Regions from separate parts of the Homo sapiens genome. Here region 1 is linked to region 2. Evidence: promoter capture Hi-C in 16 types of primary human blood cells and fetal thymus (Javierre and others, 2016). All regions are on one chromosome and are shown on one strand. The core of a region is centred on a gene start or on the middle of the fragment in contact, and the rest is flanking DNA. Distances in the headings are between cores, read along the strand shown. Region 1 overlaps PRUNE2 (prune homolog 2 with BCH domain). Region 2 holds the start of FOXB2 (forkhead box B2).

Region 1 (3,401 bases), core at 368-2,867, 260 kb after region 2:
CTGAACACTCTACCTCGAGGGGACTGTAACTCAGTCAGCTCAGTGGCCACCAGCTAAAAGGGGCTTGTTTCTTCCAGTATGAAGTCTGCTTCTCCAGCAAACACCTGCTTTGCACTGGAGCAGAGCAGACCTTAGGTTCTTGTCCCTATTTGCCACCTTCTGATCTGCTCCTGTCTGAACCCCCTGAGCCCCTCCTAGACTACGTTGCCTGGACCAGTTCCCCTGGTCAAGGGTGATCATGGAATAGAAAAGGATCAGAAGCTTTGACTTTAAATTCACAGCCATTTGCTACCCGTAATTTTTTTTTTCCTGGACCCATCACAAAAATTTCCTGTGGTTTCAGCCTTCTTATCCACCTATCCAGATTGTGTTGAGGGTTAAATGTGATAATGTAGAGAGAAATGCTTGTATGGATTGTAAAGTTCTGTGGGGTAGAAAATGCCTGCATCCTTTCCAAACACCGTGATTCATCTGGGCATTGTGATGCTTGCCTGTAGTCCCAGCTACTCAGGAGGCTGAGGCGGGAGCAGCCCTTGAGGCTTGAGACTGCAGTGAGCTAGTATCACGGTGCTGCACTCCATCCTAACTGACAGTGAGACTCTGTCTAAAAAAAAAAAAAAAAAATTTTTTTAAAGATATAACAACCAGACACCCTGATTCAACAGAGCAATTATTTCCTATCATTGTTATTCCCACTTGATTCTTCTGCAACTCTCTGCAGCACTAAGCAAGGAAACCCCTCAGCACCTCCTGGACTGAAAATACTAGGAGTTATGCATGCAGATTCCTTTAAGAACCATACCACCCATGGCTGGACAGGAGGGTGACTTCAGCATTACTTCTTAGTTTCACCAAGTTTGCATTTATTTAAGTTCTACACAGTTGGTCCCAAAAGCCTCAGTGCAGTTTTATGCGTTAATACTGTCAGATATAGAAATACTATAAGCTTACAAAACGCTGCTTTTGGAAGTTTAGTTATTTTCATCTCTTTTACTCTATTAGTTTTATAAGTTTTGAATAATGTATTTTGAACTTTCTATTTTGTTATAGTCTCCTGATTGAAGATAGCAAAGGTTAACCAGAAGAAAAAATTATTATTTAAAAAATTTTTTAATTCACAGAACTAAATCAGTATAAAAGGAATGAAAACAAACTTTCAAATGATGTTTTATGTAAGTTTTTAGTATGCATGTTTCTGAAGTCATTAAAGCTTAAAACTGCACTAAGACTTTCGGGATCTATTCTAATCTCTCTTTTTTTGGGTGGGGCCCAGGGATCCTCCTGCCTCAGCTTCCTGAGTCACTGGAACTATAGATGCATGCCACCATGTACAGCTAATTTTTGTAGAGATGGGATTTCTCCATGTTACCCAGGCTGGTCTCGAGTGATTCCCTGCCTCTGCTTCCCAAAATGCTGGAGTTACAGGTATGAGCCACCATGCCTGGCCTGTTGTAATCTCTTGACCATTCCACAAGAAACAAAGCTTTGAGCTTCATTAATAAATTCTTCCTCACTTCAGTTATTATCGCAATTATTACCAGTTGAGCCCTTCACTCTGGCAGTGATTTATTGGCATTCTCTAATATTAGTCATCTCAAGCAGAAAAACTTAGAATGGTTTATAGATGCTTTAGTTTCTGAAATTTCAGTCTGAATCCTAGTTTAGGCCCTTTACTCATTTACATACGAGTAAAAAGCAGTTTTCAAAACTAACATGACTCAGAATGCAGCCAAGCAATCAAAAAAAGCTTCTCTTTGAGTTTGCCAGTTGACAGTATTTTTCTGGCAGTAGTTAGTACATCTAAATATTAACTAATTAATCTAGCTTGTAATATTCGCTGCTGGTTTCATTGAATGAGGTGGGAGTAGGTCAGATCTGCAGACCATTCACAATCTCCAAATGCAAATAAAGTAGCATTTGTTTGTAGGTGGAACCAAATGATTATAAATGAATGGTGAGCCATCTCCTGGGATTGGATATAAAGGTCCTGTAAATGCAGAATTGTATCAACAAACAGCTGTTGGGAAAATACTATTATGCTGTAATAGCTGCTATTAAAATCCATTAGCAGTCTTGATGGCCTGTTTGAATTTGATGCATCATTTGCTCTGAATAGCATTTCTTCCTAAAGTTTTGCAGTAGAATTTATGCAGATTGATAGCTGGTAACAGTGACATTCTGGGAGATTAATACTGATTAAACACTTTGCTTGCATTGGCTATTCCAGCCCCCCAAAAATGCTGCAAATACTGCAGTTTAAGTATCACGGGGGGGCAGGGCACGGGCAGGGTGGGTGGGGAACAGCATCAAGCATCAAGGCACCCCCCTGTCCCTGGTGATGGAGGCTTTCTCACACTTGGCGTGAAACATCCATTTTGCTTCCATGACAAAGGTTTGCAGACTTGAAGCAGGTCCTCTGTTTCCCACTTTTTAATAACCTGCCTTTTCCTCATCCTAGTACCTTTTCCAGACTCAGGGAATCCTCCTGGGAGGCCACAGTGCCTTCAGGACACAATCTGGCTGAAAATGTTAGATGTCTAATGAGATTTTGAAAAACACATGTGTTGGCAAAGAGAATGCAGCTGTTCTGATGGAGGAAGCATTCAAATGTTAGGATGGAAAGCCAGCGCCTGGTTCCTAGTTGCGACAGCCATGCAACTCTGGAAAGAATGGGGAAGCAGCGCCATCTGGCCAGTGAGCCATACAGGCAGCTCCCAGGGGTTTACCAATTCAAAGAGGAGAGCTGCCAGGGACTGGTTTAGGCCAGCTTCACAGTTCCTGGGTGCCGTAAGTGATCCAGGATATACAGAGACGTTTTCATGCAGATTAGAAGAGACGTTAGGGTAAGTCACTGATAAATGTGGAATACATTAAATCAAGAGTAATTTTTTATCTTAAAAAAGCAGTTCCTTTTGACATATGCACTTACATGACCTCTCATTAGTTGGGGGATTTTCAGATATTCATCAAAATGGCTCTGTGAAGAGCTGAGGTTTGTTAATTTTAAATATTTTTCATCTACTTTCACTTTCTTAGTAGCCAAAGCTGGTGGTTGGTAGGAGGTGAAAGGGAAGGACCACCAGGAAATTATTTGAAAGTTTCGCTCCTCAAAGTATGATCCCCTGGCCAGGCGCGGTGGCTCACGCCTATAGTCCCAGCACTTTGGGAGGCCGAGGCAGGTGGATCACTTAAGCTCAGGAGTTCAAGATCAGCCTGGACAACATGGCAAAACCTTGTCTCTACTAAAAATGCAAAAATTTACCGGGGCGTGGTGGCGTGCACCTGTGGTCTCAGCTACTTGGCGGGCTGAAGCGAGACAATCGTTTGAACTAGGGAAGTCGACCTGCAGTGAGCCGAGATTGCGTCACTGCACTCCAGCCTGGGGTGACAAAGTGAGACCC
Region 2 (3,560 bases), core at 119-2,618:
CGGGTGGTTTGGGCGGTTCCGGGCCCGGCGTCTCTCACCCCGCTGGTCTCCCCACGCCCGCCGGGTCCCCTAGGAGTGCACTAGCACCGAGTGCAAGGAGCCGCCCTTGCTTTCGGCCGAGGTAGGGGCTGTGGGCTCCAGCAGAGAGGCAACGGGCGAGGCCGCGGCCGCGGAGCACACGGTGGATGGCGCCGGAGGCTGCTGCGAAGCCGCGGGGACAGTGAGCCCCGGCTGCAGCGCGGACACGGGCGGCAGCGCAGGCGTGGGCTTGATGGGCACCGGCATGGCAGGCAGGCTCTGGCTTGCCGAGTGGCACAGGGACTTGACCGGGACCCCGAAGGCCCCATACTCCGGGCCTACAGGGACTCCGGCTGCGGCTGCGGCGGCCGCGGCGGCGGCCACCGAATCCATGACGCCAACGTGCGGCCACACGGAGCTGACGACGTTGCCAAGCTGGCCGGGCACGGGGTAGCCCAGGTGGTGCATGACGGACGCCAAGGGCAGCCCTCCAGCCTGCAGCACGCCCTTGTAGTCCCGGCCAATAATGTTCTCAATGGCAAAGGGGTGCTTGAAGCCTGACGTGGACGCCGCGGCCGCGGCGGCAGCGGCGGCGGCCGAGCCCAGCCCGTAGGGTGGGAACTGAGACAGGCGTCCCACGCTGCCCACCGCGGCTGCCGCGGCCGCCGCCGCCGCCGCCGCCACGGCCGCCGCCTCCTGCATCTTGCCGGGGTGAGACGGCTGCTGAGGCTGCGACTGCTGGGGCGGTTGCTGCGGGGGCTGTGACGGGAGGTGCGGAGGCGGCTGCGGAGCAGTAGGCGGTTGCTGATGGAAATAGTGTACCATGTGCGGCGGCGGCGGGGGCGGCGGCGGCGGCGGCTGGGGTGGGTGGTGGTGATGGTGGTGGTGTGCGGCAGCGTGGTGATGATGGTGGTGGTGGGGGTGGTGGTGGTGATGGGGGTGAAGGTGCCCTCCCGGACCGGCGCCCGGCGCGCTCTTGGTGCTTCCCGCGTGCAAGTGAGTATGGTCGGCGCGCAGCACCTTGAAGCGCTTGCGACGCCGCAGGAAGCTGCCGTTCTCGAACATGTCCCCGCAGTCGGGGTGCAGCGCCCAGAAGCTACCCTTGCCAGGCTGGTCGGGCCTCCGCGGAATCTTGATGAAGCAGTCGTTGAAGGAGAGGTTGTGGCGCAGGCTGTTCTGCCAGCGCTGTGTGTGCTCGCGGTAGTAGGGGAAGCGCTCCATGATGAACTTGTAGATGTCGCTCAGCGGCAGCATCTTCTCGGCCGAGTGCTGGATTGCCATGGCGGTCAGCGAGATGTAAGAGTAGGGCGGTTTTTGGTCGCTGTACGAGCTCTTCCCCGGCCGCGGCATCGCCCCCGGCTCCTCCACCGCCCTCCGGCCCGCACTGGACCACAGAATCTCTCCGCACTCCGTTCCTGGGGCCTGGCTGCCCCCACTAATTCCCACTCGGCCCCTCCAGTCCCGCCACTTTGCCCTCTCGCCCTCCAGGCCCTCTCTGCTTCTCTCTCCTGCCTTCTCCGAATTGCCTGGTGTCTCCGACCTTGGCCTTTCGGGCCTACTCAGCTCTCGGAAGCTGGCAACTTCTGGCCCCGACGGTTGCCGACTGGCGCGCACAGTCGCGGGCGGAGTGCACCAGGTTTACCGCCGCCTTCTCTGCGTCTTCCCCCGGGTGGCCAAAGACTGAGTGCTGGAGCTGGCTGCAGAGGAGAGTGGCAAGGGGCCGTGTTTCCTCCCGGCCTCTTTGCTTTTTCTAGGTCCGAGGGAAACCCAGACCAAGATGGCTGGGAGGAAGGTCTGGGCAGTAGAGACTCTGGCCCTTTAAATCTGAGTTTGCGCCTGCTGTCCTGGAGGCCAGTGACAGCAGGACTTCCAGTGCCCTGGACGCAGGCCCCTGGCCAGGCACTTAGCCAGACCGCGCTGGAGTTCTCCTTTTCCTGGAGTGAAAAATCAGGGTAAGGAGAGAGAAGATTGGCTTCTAGGGCGCCTCTCTTTTCTCCGAGGCTCGCAGCGTCGCCGGGGTTAGAAGAGACGCGCAGCCCTAGGCTGTCGCTGAGGAGAAAAAACTTTGGTGGTTTCTGAAGCGGCAGCGCCCGCAGGTTCTGCTGAGGAGTGTGGGGCGCAGGACTCTGGGAGCGAGCGGCGGGCTGGAGAGGGCGTCTGCGAATGCTGGGTGAGTGCTGGCCGGGGAGGCTCAGCCGTCCGCGCCGCAGCTGCCGCCTTTCTCCCGGGCTTGTCTTGAGGAGGAGAGGCGACGGCAGTGGCAGCGACGCGCTCTCCTGGCTGCGTTTTGTAATGGTCCCCGAGACGCCGAGACCCCCGCAGCTAGCGCTTCGAGACTATCACATGACCGAGGCTGAGGGACTCAGCCGCCGCCGCCGCGTCTGTAGCTGAAGAAGGGGCAAGAAGGCGCCGTGCCTCGCCCCCGCCCCCTTTTCCACCTCGTTTCGGGCGCTCTCCACCCATCGCGTTCACCACTCGCTCGGCAGCCCCCAGCCACCTCCCGGTGCGGCGGGTGGCGCAGGCTGTTCGCCGGGAGGGGGCACAGCTCCGGGTGCATTTCCCGCAGCTGCGCCCCACCCGGGCCACCAAGCACGGTGGAGGGGGAACAGGACACTGCCTTCTTGCTTCTCTTCTCTCTGGCATCTCCCTCTTCCGCCCCCTTCCTTTTACCCTTCCCTGTTTTCATCTACTCGCTGTGAGCTTCTCTCTCCTTACAAACCCTTTTTCCTGGGCTAGACACTCTGGGTCAAGTTCAGAGTATCGTGTCCTCAAGGCCTCTTCTCTGCAAGAAACCCCGATGATTAGAGGGCTGGAGGGAAAAACTCATGGGGAAGAAAGCATGGGGTGTTTTCACCAAATGCCAAATTCATCTCAGTTTTATTGCGCGCCAACTGCATGTGAGGCACCAGGTGCAGGGAGACAGGAGACAGTATCCGAGCTCCACCATCGCGGTATAGAGGGTGAGACGAACAGTAACCAAGAAATTAATAGAATAGGCACTAAAGGGCTTGGCGAATGGAGGCTCCACCACACTTTCCTGGAGCGAGTGAGTTGGACAAGATGAGGTTTCTCTGGGATGGCGATGTCTGAGCTGGGGCCAGAAGTAAGAGTTGGGGATTCAGGGGTCCCATCACCTGTGTGTGCTGGAAGGAAATCTTTGCTATTCTTAGCACGGTGGTGTGGGGCCAGGGCGAGGCAGGAGGTGGAATGGAAATAATTAAATAGGAAGCAAAAATTATCAGTCCACAGGATCCTGGTGTGATCTGCGAGGGAGAGGTGGATGAACCCAGGAGTGAGGTCCTTCTGCTTGGAGGTTCCTGCTCTGCACTCATCCAAACACCCAGCAGGAAACCCCAGTTTACTGCAGGGAGAACCTGAAGTTGTATACTCGTTTTGGCTACCTTTGCCCTTCAGCTGGGAGGAAAAGCAGAGTTTAGAAACAAGTATACTCTCCGTCTCTGGGACTGTTTCATTATTTGTAAAATAGGGTGGCTGAAGTTGGAAATTCACGGGTCCTTTCCCGTTAGGCGATTTGAGGAGAA

Evidence for each region. Contacts are between HindIII fragments. The CHiCAGO score rates a contact against its expected background, and 5 or more counts as called.
Region 1: a contact is called between a fragment that was not itself captured here and the fragment with the promoter of FOXB2 in region 2, in 1 of 17 cell types (M0 macrophages). The highest score is 5.0, in M0 macrophages.

What each region holds. Positions count from the first base shown.
Region 1 is chr9:76,755,726-76,759,126 of GRCh38, reverse strand. All of the region lies in intron 6 of PRUNE2 (prune homolog 2 with BCH domain), which reads left to right. Among named protein-coding and RNA genes, the nearest start is that of PCA3, 7.0 kb to the left of the region's middle. RefSeq lists an enhancer at 2,779-2,848. The HindIII fragment of the contact is 264 bases long and covers 1,486-1,749 here.
Region 2 is chr9:77,017,463-77,021,022 of GRCh38, reverse strand. It overlaps FOXB2 (forkhead box B2), which reads right to left and starts at 1,368. Exons shown (of 1, transcript NM_001013735.1): 1 at 70-1,368. The coding sequence starts at 1,368. The coding sequence ends at 70. The HindIII fragment of the contact is 5,221 bases long and covers 1-3,560 here.